Linked DNA regions of Homo sapiens: all the other regions are linked to region 2. Evidence: promoter capture Hi-C in 16 types of primary human blood cells and fetal thymus (Javierre and others, 2016). All regions are on one chromosome and are shown on one strand. The core of a region is centred on a gene start or on the middle of the fragment in contact, and the rest is flanking DNA. Distances in the headings are between cores, read along the strand shown. Region 1 overlaps RPRD1B (regulation of nuclear pre-mRNA domain containing 1B). Region 2 holds the start of VSTM2L (V-set and transmembrane domain containing 2 like). Region 3 overlaps RPRD1B (regulation of nuclear pre-mRNA domain containing 1B).

Region 1 (3,918 bases), core at 173-2,672, 170 kb before region 2:
AGGCAATGTTGGATTCTGAACCATTTCCCCCTTCCCAGCTGTGTTGTCTGAAGTCAGAGGCTCTACTCCTGAGTAGTCATTACAGCCAAGGGGGAGGTGCCAAGCGAGGAGAAACACCAGCAGCTTTAAGTTCATGAGCCAATTTCTCCCCTCCTATCAGAGCAAGAGCGTGAGCAGGGGTACAGCGAGGCAGGTACTTAGAACCTTGGTGGCAGAGTAGGTTCTTTCACACTTAGAATGCTTTCATGCAATCATTTTATGACCCCACATAAAATGTCATTTCTCTACAACAAGATTCTTGGGAACTGTTTAAATGATTAAACTTTGGCTACTATTCTGTGTAAGATGTCTTCCTGCTGTTGATGTTGCAGAATCAAAATTCTGAAATCAAAACAAAAGTACAAATCTGATGAAGTTACCAGATGTCTGCCTTGGACTCTATGCTGGTCTGCAGCTACCTCTCTCTCTAGGTTTCTTCACCAATTCAGAAGTCTGATTATATGATCTCTAAGGTTCTGTCCAGCTCAATAATCCTGCTAATCACTTTACTTAGATATCCAGGCCTCTATGTGTCACTTTACTTTGTAAAGCTGCTGTTGTGACTGTGCCCTGGTGACTCCATTGAGTCCATACACAAAATACTCATATCTTCTAGAGGTGGGGGTTAACATTATTGAAAGGTGATACCACTGCCCTCCATCTGTGGTCCCAAAACCTAGACAGGGCCTTTATAATATCAAATGCATCAGTAAATGACACTCTCCTAGAGTGCTTTTTAAAATTCTGCAGCAGAAATTGAAGACTTAAATAAATGTGAAGACATCCCCTGTTCATGAGCTGAAACACTTAAGACTGCTAAAATCGCAATACTCCCCAAAGTGACCCGCAGACTCAATGCATTCCCTAGTAAAACTTCAATTACCTTTTTTGCAGAAATGGAAAAGGTGATTGTTAAATTCATAGGGAATTGCAAGCGATCCTAAATAGCCAAAACAATACTGAAAAAGAACTCTGAGGACTCATACTTACTGATTTTAAAACTTACTACAAAACTACAGTGATGGAGATAGTGTGGTATGAGCATAGGATAGACATATACATTAATGGAATAGAATTGAGAATCCAGAAATAAACCAATACATCTGTGGCCAATTGATTTTTGACAAGGGTGCTGGGCATTCAGGTGGAGGAAAAGAGTAGTCTCTTCAACAAATGGTGCTGGGACAAATGGATATCTACAGGCAAAAGAATGAAGTTGGTCCCCCCCTACATCACACCACATACAAAAACTAACTCAAAACAGATTAAGAACGTAAATTTAAGACATAAAATTATAAAACTTCTAGAAGAAAACACAGAAAAAAATTGTCATGACCTGGGATTGGCAACAGATTATTACATGTGACACCAAAAGCATGAGCAACAACCACAAAAATAGATAAATTGGAACTCATAAAAATAAAAAACTTTTGCACATCAAAGGATATTACCTAGAAAGTGAAAAGACAACTTATAGGAGAAAATAGTTGCAAATCATTTATGTGATAAAGGTATATTATCCACAATATATAAAGAACTTTTACAACTCAAAAAAAGCAAATAACCCAATTTGAAAATGGGCAAAGGAATTGAACACACATTTCTCCAAAGATAAACAGCCGACAAGCATACTGAAAGATGATCAGTATCGTTAGTAATTAGCAAAATGCAAATCAAAATCACAATGAGATAAACCTGCACATGTAGGTTGTCGAAAATAAAGAGACAATAACAAATGTTGATGAGGATGTGGAGAAACTGGAACCCACGCACATTGCTAGTGGGGATGTAAAATGATGTAGCTGCTGTGGAAAACAGTCTGATGGTTCCTCAAAATGTTACATAGAATTACCATATGACCCAGCAATTCCACTCCTAGATTTATACATAACCAAGAGAAATGAAAAGATATGGCCACACAAAAACCTCCACATGACTGTTTATAGCAACACTATTCATAAGAGCCAAAAGGTGGCAACAACTCAAATGTCCATAGACAGGTTATAAACTGTGTCACATCCATACAACAGATTAGTGTTCTACCATAAAAGAGATGAAGTACTGATATATGCTACAACATGGGATGAATCTTGAAAACATCGTGCCGAAAGAAGCCAGACACAATTATGTTTTGGAACTTGATACAATACTGTGAACGTACTAAATGCCACCAAAATGTGTGCACTTTGAAGTGCATGGTTAATTTACGTTATATGAATTTCACCTCAACTAAAACAATAAATCTGCAGCTTGGAACAAATTTCTCAAGAGCTCTTCCCTGTGTGGCATATCATCTTTGTGTGTGTGCACCATGTGGCATGTGGGTCAACACAGGACTATCTGCTTTCAGTTCTAGATCGCTGACAGTCAGACACCATGATCTGAATAAAATTCACAGTTAAGGCCAGGCATGGAGGCGCATGCCTGTAATTCCAACACTTTGGGAGGCCAAGGCAGGTGGATCACCTGAGATCAGGAGTTCGAGACCAGCCTGCCCAACATGGCAAAACCCCATCTCTACTAAAAATACAAAAATTAGCTGGGTGTGGTGGCATGCGCCTGTAGTCCCAGCTACTCGGGAGGCTGAGGCACGAGAATCGCTTGAACCCGGGAGGCAGTGAGCTCAGATTGCTCTACTGCACTCTAGCCCTGGGCAACAGAGCAAGAGTCTGTCTCAAAAAAAAAAAAAAAAAAATCACAGTTAAGAAGGGAAAACTGCAGGTTCCTGACCTTTTTTCTTTCCTTAATACTTGTACAAATAGGTTTCTTTCTCACACACACACTCTTCCACATGCACTGATCATGCTAACAGAACATGTCTGTATCATGCTTTATTCACGCTGACAAGACAGGAACCCTATCCAACCCACTCACGCTATGTCTTATGAGCTTTGAGCAGACATCTGGGAGTAATGTAGTCACCTCTGTCAACCACAAACAAAGCTTCTCTTTGCTCTGGAAGTGAAGCTGGAAGGCTTTTCTGGTATCTTTGGCCTTTGCCTTTCTGAATGGGCTTTCTTCTATACCCTCCACATTCTCTAACCTCCTCTTTGGGCTGCCATTTGTGCTTCCTTCCACGTGCCTTCTCCATTTCTAGGTTTTCTCATGTTCATGACAAAAACATTACCCACAGATTTTCAGCAGCATTCCTTCCACCCTTGCCTGGTGTTTAAGGGCCAACATCATAGGCCAAAGTCAATCATGACACCCTGAAGCAAAAGTCAAAAACAAACAAACAAAAAAAGATGATTATCTCAGAATAAAGCATAATTCTACTTAAAGGAAAAAAGAAAAGTAGTACAAAGGAGAAAACCTACAGAAACTTCTAAAAATGGTTACCTTTCCGTACTAACATATTCTTTACAACCAATCATTAAATCAGATTTGTTAAGCCACTTTTAATGCAACCTTAAAAAAAAACCCTTTTCTCTATAGAAAAAGGTTACATCAAGTGATGGATTTCACAGAACAAGTATTTACTGAGGAACAAATATGTTCCTGGCACTGTGAGAGCACTCAAAGAGTATACAGTCTAGCAAACTTTGGGAGACCTGCTGAAGGCATTACAGTTTCAGAAACTGTCCATGATTTGATAACTCTCACAATTTTAATAAGCATCTGATCAAATTATTATTAGCATCTTCATTTTTTTCTTGGTCTATTTCAAGGTAGACACAAGTGAGAATATTTTCCTTACTGACAACCTATCTTGAATTCTACCCTAACCCCTTGTTTGCTGCTATTTCCCCCTGACTAGAGCATAAGCCCTTTGAGGGGAGAAGTGCATCGTGCCCATCTTTGTACATCTGGCTGGCACAGGCTTTGCTGACTCCCTGAATGAATACGTAGCTTCTTAAAGAGCACAGACCTTAATCTCCC
Region 2 (3,961 bases), core at 303-2,802:
ACCTCCCCACAGCCCTGGGCCCACAGTGCCCAGCACTGGGGCTGCAGCCTCCCCAACAAGGCTGTCAGCCTGTCTAGTGAAGGGCTGCATGGAAGAAAGGTCTCCTTTGGTTTCATCTATGCTCGAGCCTCCATCCCAGAGCCAGGCTCACAGGGGTCAGGGGGAGCCCCCACAGCTGCCGGGCTCATACAGTCCAACTCTGCTGCCAACTTGGGCTCCTTCGGGGCTAGCAGGAGCTTCTGACACTCAGCCAGCCAGTGCTGGGAATGCTTGTCTGCTCCCCGGCTTCCACAGCGGCTGGAGTTGAGATTTCCCACATTTCAGTCCTCTAGGGCCGAGGATGAGGATGGGGGTACCCTATGGAAGGATGGCACGGCTTCCTGCCCATCCCCAGAGGCAGACAAAAGCACCCGGCATTCCACTTCCACTCCCACTCCCATGCCTCTGGCTGCAAGCAGCAACCCCAACTACTCCGGTGGCTCTGAGGGGCTTCCACCAGGTGCCACCCGCCCAACTGGGAGGCTGCAGCCCCAGGCGACCAGTTCTCAAGAAACAAGGTCTTCTGCCCCCAAGGACCTTTCCAGTGGTATAGGGCTGGGTGTGGAGAGGAAGAGGACAAGGGCCTCTGTGCGGTTAAACCCAGAAGAGTAAAGGCAGATGGGCAGAGAGGAGTGGGTGAGCAAATTGTGTTCATGTGTGTGTATGTGTGTGCCTGTGTGTGTGTGCGCGCGCGCGCACCAGTGTGTCTGCAGGTGGGCAGGCAAGAGTTGTGGCGAAGCGTGTGCGCCAGCTGGCAGAGTGAGCCCACCGGCGCAGTGCCTGATGTGCGTGTGTAGTGGGCATAAGTGTAAAGGCTTGCAGTGAGGAGGGGGACCTGAGGTGTGTGGAGATGTGCAGGGTAGGAGTTGTGAGTGTGAGAAAGCAGCGACTGTGGCTCTGAGTGTGTCCGCGGCTGTGCATATCGGTGTGGCCATGCAGGTGTGCGTATCCGCGCGAGTGTGTGGGGAGGAGGTTCGGGGGTGCGCCCCGGGTGCCCCCTTCTCTGCAGGGCCAGGGTGCCAGGGCGGGTCCACCGCGCCGGCAGGGGGCGCCCCGGGATGCCCGCCACGACTGGCGCCGGTTCGAGCCCCGGGGCGGCCAAGTTGGAGTGGCGCGGCCCGGGTTGGGGTTTGGTGGGGAAGTCCGCGGGGGCGGCGACCGAACTCACCGTGGCCGGAGACGTGGTTGTCCCAGGGCGCGTGGCCGGCGGGCCGCGTGGCGCCGCCGAGTTGCAGGAAAAGTGCCAGGTAGTGGAGGGCGCCCAGCGCTACGGCGAGCGGGGCCCCCATCGTGCGCTCTCGGGCCGGGGGCGCCGCCGCCTCACATCTGGGCCCCGGAGACCGCAGAACCGGCGCCAGCTGTCCCCTGCCCTGAGCGGCCTGGCTGCCCGGCTCCGGCAGCTGCCCCTCGCCCGCTGTCCCCGGACCCGGCCCAGCTCCCAGCCCTCGCCCGGCTCCGGCCCAGCCCCGGCTTCGGGGAGCGAGCGCACGCCCAGCCGGCCGCCTCCGACTGCGGGACTCTTCCCTTCCGCGGAAGGCCACGCCGCGCCGCCGCCGCACCCTCCTCCCTCCTCCCGCCTCCCTCCTCCCCTCCCTCCTCCCCTCCCTCCTCCCGCTCGGAGCAGGCGGCGGAGGGATCTGCCGCTTGATTTATCATCAAAGTTTTGCCCAGGCTGGGATTTTTAAAGCGGTACCCGCAACTTTCCCCCGCCCGAGTGCGGAGGCGGGGCCGGGATGGGGCGGAGAGAGCCACCCCAGGGACGCGGTTCCCGCAAAGCACGACCCAACGGGCTTCAGCCACAGAAATGCCGTCCAGCGGGGAGAGGGAGAAAAGCCAGGGCACCCGCCGCCAGGCCAGCGCACTCAGAGGCTCCTAACTTTACCGGCAGGGCGGGGCCGGGGTCAGGGGCCAGTGGGGCTGGGGGTGAGGGCGAGGTAGGGTGGGAGCCTGGGCTGAGACCCAGGGGACCTGGTGATAGCTCTGCCGCCGACCTCGGCTCGCTGTGTGATCGCGTCCGGGTGTCTACCCCTCTCTGAACCTCGAAGTCTTCATCTGAGAAATAGGGGTAATAGCTGTCTGCGGGGGTCCTGGTGAGGATTTGCGAAATCGTGCATGCAAAGCGCTTAGCATAATGCTGCCTACGTGGTAGGAGCTCAGTAGTTATTATTGTCGGTGTTCCCCTTTCTGGGACTCAGTTTTCGAGTCTTTGTAATGGGAGAGAGACAGGCCAGTTAGTTGTTGCGGCTCCTGGCTCTTGAAGATACTGGACCTTATGTGGTGGATGGGATCGCCCCCTTCTGGACTGTAGGCTCCTTCCCTAGACCAATGAGCCTTGATGGTGTGTGTGTGCATGAGTGTGTGTGTGCGTGTGCGTGTGCGCGCGCGTATGCGTGGGTGTATGTGTGTGTGAGTGTGGCAGGGGAGGGGGATAGGGCACCATTCCCATTCCCAAGAGCAAGAATCCAACAAAGTCCTCCAGTTCCTTCCCAAGCCGTGTTACTGGGGCTGATGGGACAGACAGGAGGGCGGAACTGTGGTCCCATTTAAAAGATAAGGAAGCGCCTGAAATCAGGTAATTAGCTTCTCTGAGGTCCCACGGCGAGTCGGGCGAGGCCCCTGACTCCTGGGCGGGGTCCCTCCTGCTCTCATCCCTTGCCCTTCCCCAGGCCTCCCTGCTCACACAGCCTGGTCCTCCCGGTTTCAGCACCACGGAGGAGGACAGCGCCAGCCCCCCCCCCGCCCCCCGCCCCCCGCCCCACCCGGGCCCATCCTTTGGGCACCGTGGACAGCGTCTCAACTGGCCCTTTGATGCTAGGGTTCACACCGTGGACAGACCCTCAGACTTTCTTCCCCGTCCCCGTCGAACAGGGTCAACCCCTCCGACAGCCCACTCCCCACTCCAGAACACAGGTGGATCCCGCGTCCAGCCGTGTGTACAGCGCCCAAGTTTGAGAACAAGGTTAGAGACCAAGGAACATAGCCCCTCGCCGTCTTCCCTCTGTCTTAGCGCCCCCCTTCCAGTATTATGGGGGGGGGGTAGCACACCGGATGGGGCCCGTGGTAGCCAGCAACAATCCAGCTCCTTCCAAACTAAGGACACCTCCTCCACGATGTCCCGCACTTACAAGCACTGTGTTCTAGCACCGTCCACAGCCCCCGCGCTCCCTTCAGTACCGAGGACAGGTCCCAAGCGTCGACCGCTTCCCCCACCCCCCGAACCTTCTGGACCACATGCCTTGGAGGAAGGGGCCGTGTTTGCCTGATTCTCTCACTTCTCACTTTCTTCCCACACAGAGGTGGTGTTTAGGTTATCCTGGGCTGGCCAGGCGTCTTGGACTCTATGCACGTGTTTTCTCATTCATTAACTACCCTGAACCCCGCTCCCAGCGAAATGAACTACTGCTTCCATCATAAAGATATGGAAACTGAGAATCCTCCAGATCACATAGCAGCCACCATGTTAGCCAGACTAAAACCCAGGACTCCTTCAACCCCAGCCTGAGGCCTCACCAGGAGACTGTGGTGACAGAACTGGGACTCAAACCCGGGCTTTCTCCTCTTAAACCACAGATTGGAGGGAGCAGACACAGGCAAGGGGACAGGGAGGGAGAGGAGATTAAAGAGGAGTAAACAAGAGATTGCTCAGGCCTGCAGAGGAAGGGGGTCTGGCGGGATGGCAGCACATTGCTGCTGTGCCCCTAGCCCACCGGCTGACCTTCAGAAATCTTTTCTCTTTGAAGCCTGGAACAAGGTCAAGGTTCCTTCAAGGACAGACATCCAGGGATTGTATGCCTTTGAAAATGCTCGTGATCGGCCAGGTGTGGTGGCTCACGCCTGTAATGCCAGCACTTTGAGAGGCCGAGGTGGGCATATCACGAGGTCAGGAGTTCGAGACCAGCCTGACCAACATGGTGAAATCCCA
Region 3 (4,104 bases), core at 48-2,547, 140 kb before region 2:
AAATACAGAAAAGTAAGCTTTCTATTTGATTTGGCTGAAAAAAAGAAAAGAAAAGAATTTAACTTACACCAAAGAAATTCTCAATTCACAATTCTTTTGCCCTGGGCTGCTCCTAAAAAAACATTAAGACAAGTATTATCTACCTGGGGGGTCAAGTAGATATGTTTAAAAAGACCACCTAAGGAATAGGTTTGGGAATACCATTTCGGAAAAAAAAAAAAGAAAAAGAAAAAGAATGGGCCATCTTCATTGCTGTGTTGTTTAAACCAGGGTAATTAATTGATAGTAAAAATTAAGATAATCCAAAGAGAATTCCTAAAGGATAAGCAGTCAGTGTTAATGTTGAAACTAGGGCTTTTATTTATTCTACTGCAAAAATGAGCAACTTCTAACTCACTTTTAATTATCAAATATTTCAGAATGAAAGACTGAGTTGGCCGGACGCAGTGGCTCATGCCTGTAATCTCAGCACTCTGGGAGGACGAGGTGGGTGGATCATTTGAGGTCAGGAGTTTGAGACCAGCCTGGCCAACATGGTGAAACCCTACCTCTACTAAAGATACAAAAATTAGCCGGGTGTGATGGTGGGCACCTGTAGTCCCAGCTACTCAGGAGGCTGAGGCAGGAGAATCGCTTGAACCCAGGAGGTGGAGGTTGCAGTGAGCCGAGATTGCACTACTGTACTCCAGCTTGGGCAATAGAGCAAGACTCTGTCTCAAAAAAAAAAAAAAAAGACTGAGTTAGGTTTCAATTTTAAAATGGTTTCGCCGAGCGTGGTGGCTCATGCCTGTCATCCCAGCACTTTTGGAGGCCGAGATGGACGGATCACCTGAGGTCGGGAGTTTGAGACCAGCCTGACCAACGTGGAGAAACCCCGTCTCTACTAAAAATACAAAATTTGCCTGGCGTGGTGGCACATGCCTGTAATCCCAGTTACTCAGGAGGCTGAGGTGGGAGAATCGCTTGAATCCGGGAGGTAGAGGTTGTGGTGAGCCTAGATCATGCTGTTGCACTCCAGCCTGGGCAACAAGAGCAAAACTCCGTCTCAAAAAAAAAAAAAAGGTTTCTTGTAATTTTGCTCCTAAACTGAGAATTTCTCTGATACTCCAATAACCATAATCAATAATATAGAAGAATCTCTAGGTGCACCAATAGATATTAGCTCAAATACAAGTATACATTAACACTACACTCTTATTGAAAATTTACACACGTGTGAAATCTAGATATGCAAAATTAGGGCTTTCACAAAAACCATAATTCTCTCTTATTTATATGAAATGTGGTTATTCCCTATTACTCTATATGGTATCATATATTAAACCATAAAAACCTCGTGCAATATGTCTGAGTTACAGTTGCTTTGGGGAACATTACTGAATTCCCTGGCTTCTATGCACATAATTTCTCAACTATAAAGTTACATCCCTACAATTTTTGGTTCCAATTTTCTTTTAAAAGAAATAAATAAGAACATAATTAGATGTTTCAAAACACAAAGTTTTCTCCAATGCTAAAGTACCTGAAAAACACAAGCTCTTTATCAACCTTAACACACCTGAGTAACTCTATTTCTCTCTGAAACCAGTTGTTTCTTTTGAAATGTACAAAGCATTGATATGTCTGACATAGCAGGCATAAGATCTGACATTTTAAAATGTAGCTACAGGAGGCTGGGCACAGTGGCTCACGCCTGTAATCCCAGCACTCCGGGAGGCCAAGGCAGGTGGATCACCTGAGGTCACGAGATCAAGGCCATCCTGGCTAACATGGTGAAACCTTGTCTCTACTAAAAATACAAAAAATTAGCCAGGCGTGGTGGCGGGCGCCTGTAGTCCCAGCTACTCAGGAGGCTGAGGCAGGACAATGGGGTGAGCCCAGGAGGCGGAGCTTGCAGTGAGCCGAGATCACACCACTGCACTCCAGTCTGGGTGACAGAGCAAGACTCTGTCTCAAAAAAAAAAAAAAAAAAAAAAAACAAAACAAAAAAAATCAGCCGGGCGTGGTGCCAGGCGCCTGTAAACCCAGCTACTTGGGAGGCTGAGGCAGGCGAATCACTTGAACCTGGGAGGCGGAGGTTGCAGTGAGCCGAGATCGCGCCAACTGCACTCCCACCTGGGTGACAGAGTAAGAGACTCCGTCTCAAAAAAAAAAAAAAAAATGTAGCTACAGGAGAGTAACCCAAGTTAAAAACATGATTTTAATAGCACATTACAGTTTAAACTGATGAAACTGATGTCTTAAATGCTCATAAAATTAAATATGGATACCCTGAATTGTCTTAACCTTCTGGTAATAACCTAGTTTAGATGGCCAACTGATAAGAATACTAGGAACCTGGAGCTTTCTTCAACTTTCTAATTATTATTCAAAAGCAGAACAAAAGTGTCAGTAGTTACAATATCTACTGTTGCTACAAAGGTATGATTATGGCAAAACGTGCTTTTTTGTTAAAGCAAACCTTGCTCTGCAAAGTTGATGTAAGTGAAACTACTACACCTATAATCCCATGCAAGTTAGCAGATTCGAAAGCAAAACAGAACTTCAACAAAGCAAATTTCATTAAGTGAAGCTTTAAAATTCCATACACTTTATGTTGAAAAAAAAAAAACCTAGAATCCATATTGTAAAATGTCAGTGTGGACATTCAAGACCTGATATATACTTCTCAGTAGACAAACAAGGTATCTAAGGGGCTTGAGACCCAAGGTTTTCACTGTTTACAATGCCAATTAATTTTCATCACCCCAGAACTTAACAATGGGGATTTATTTAGGATAAACTGTATCCCTCCATATTCAACATCCTCAACAGTCAACATAAGCACCATGTGTGTCAAGGTGATATGACAAAACCCTAGAGCTCTTGAGCACACACAGTCACAATACACACAACATGCACACCCCTCCATCCCAATCCTGGGGGACAACTCACTTGTTCAGATGTCCTTCCTATACGACAGAAATAGGTCCTTTCACTCACTACCCATGTCCATTCCAAACTGGTCAAACTAGTTGTTGAGTAAAATTTAAACAACTGGTTAATCAAAACTTTTCACTTGTTTGGCTGGTTTTGACATCTACAGAAAGTCTTAAAGTAATTCTGCAATAAAAGCCCATTACCTACATTCAGGCCAAGATACAAAACACCATTAAAAACATTCATTTAGGAGCACTTTACACCAAAACTAGTCCATAAAGAAGGGGAGACGTTCTACTTAGAACAGAGCTCAAATGGGATAAATTAAAAATTATTCCTAGAAAATGGAAAGACAACACATCAGGAATAGAAGTATTTAAGCAAGAAAAAAAGTTAATTTTTATAAATCTCATATATTTTGAAGGCAACTCAGAGACAGTCTGTGAGCATCTCAGCTACGGAAAATGACTTCACCCTAGGTAGAACCTACAGGGCTAATCAATCTGAACATTAGGGCACAGAATCCTTTTCTTTCAGTGTGGGGGCATTTTCAGTTCATGAAATAAGCCTGGATATTCGGAAGCTAGGTATTGATGCTTGGAAGAGCATCTTTTTTTAACTCTGCACTGTCCAGTAAGTTAGCCACTAGCCACGTGTGGCTATTGGAACACCTGAATTGCAGCTGGTAAAAACTGGAAACTAAATTTTCAATTCTATCTACTTAAAACTTTAGTTCCTTAGTCACACATTTTAAGTGCTCCATAGCCACATATACCAAGCGGCTACCTGTTGGATGGCACAGATAGAAAACATTGCTATTATCACAGAAAATTGTATTAGATAGCGCTGTTTATATCCTTTATGCTGCTATCATAGAAAGTTGTATTGGATAGCGCTGTTTAGATCCTTTACTCAACCACGAAAATTCTATCAGAGACCATGATTTAATTCCTATTTTTAAACTATATAACAGGCACCACGCGATATCCTGTGGTGTTGCAAATAAACAAGAAGGTCTAGTTCCTCTCTCAAAACATAATCTAATGACAAAGATGTAACCAGTTCAAATGAACAGCTAGTAGGAACAAATTAAATGCTAAACTGGTATGATGGGGTGGGAGGCACTCATTAATTCTAATAAATGAAAGCACCACAGTTTGATTGCAGTCAGGTGACCACCTTCAC

What was found. Contacts are between HindIII fragments. The CHiCAGO score rates a contact against its expected background, and 5 or more counts as called.
Region 1: a contact is called between a fragment that was not itself captured here and the fragment with the promoter of VSTM2L in region 2, in 1 of 17 cell types (endothelial precursors). The highest score is 5.4, in endothelial precursors.
Region 3: a contact is called between a fragment that was not itself captured here and the fragment with the promoter of VSTM2L in region 2, in 1 of 17 cell types (endothelial precursors). The highest score is 5.4, in endothelial precursors.

What each region holds. Positions count from the first base shown.
Region 1 is chr20:38,069,555-38,073,472 of GRCh38, reverse strand. All of the region lies in intron 6 of RPRD1B (regulation of nuclear pre-mRNA domain containing 1B), which reads right to left. Among named protein-coding and RNA genes, the nearest start is that of RPRD1B, 38 kb to the right of the region's middle. RefSeq lists an enhancer at 1-108. The HindIII fragment of the contact is 3,124 bases long and covers 1-2,984 here.
Region 2 is chr20:37,900,718-37,904,678 of GRCh38, reverse strand. It overlaps VSTM2L (V-set and transmembrane domain containing 2 like), which reads right to left and starts at 1,552. Exons shown (of 4, transcript NM_080607.3): 1 at 1,208-1,552. The coding sequence starts at 1,328. All of the region lies in intron 2 of LOC124904896 (a long non-coding RNA gene), which reads left to right. RefSeq lists an enhancer at 1,289-2,252. The HindIII fragment of the contact is 14,867 bases long and covers 1-3,961 here.
Region 3 is chr20:38,036,365-38,040,468 of GRCh38, reverse strand. It overlaps RPRD1B (regulation of nuclear pre-mRNA domain containing 1B), which reads right to left. Exons shown (of 7, transcript NM_021215.4): 2 at 1-34. It overlaps LOC124904898 (a long non-coding RNA gene), which reads right to left. Exons shown (of 2, transcript XR_007067579.1): 2 at 2,362-3,010. Among named protein-coding and RNA genes, the nearest start is that of RPRD1B, 4.7 kb to the right of the region's middle. The HindIII fragment of the contact is 2,555 bases long and covers 20-2,574 here.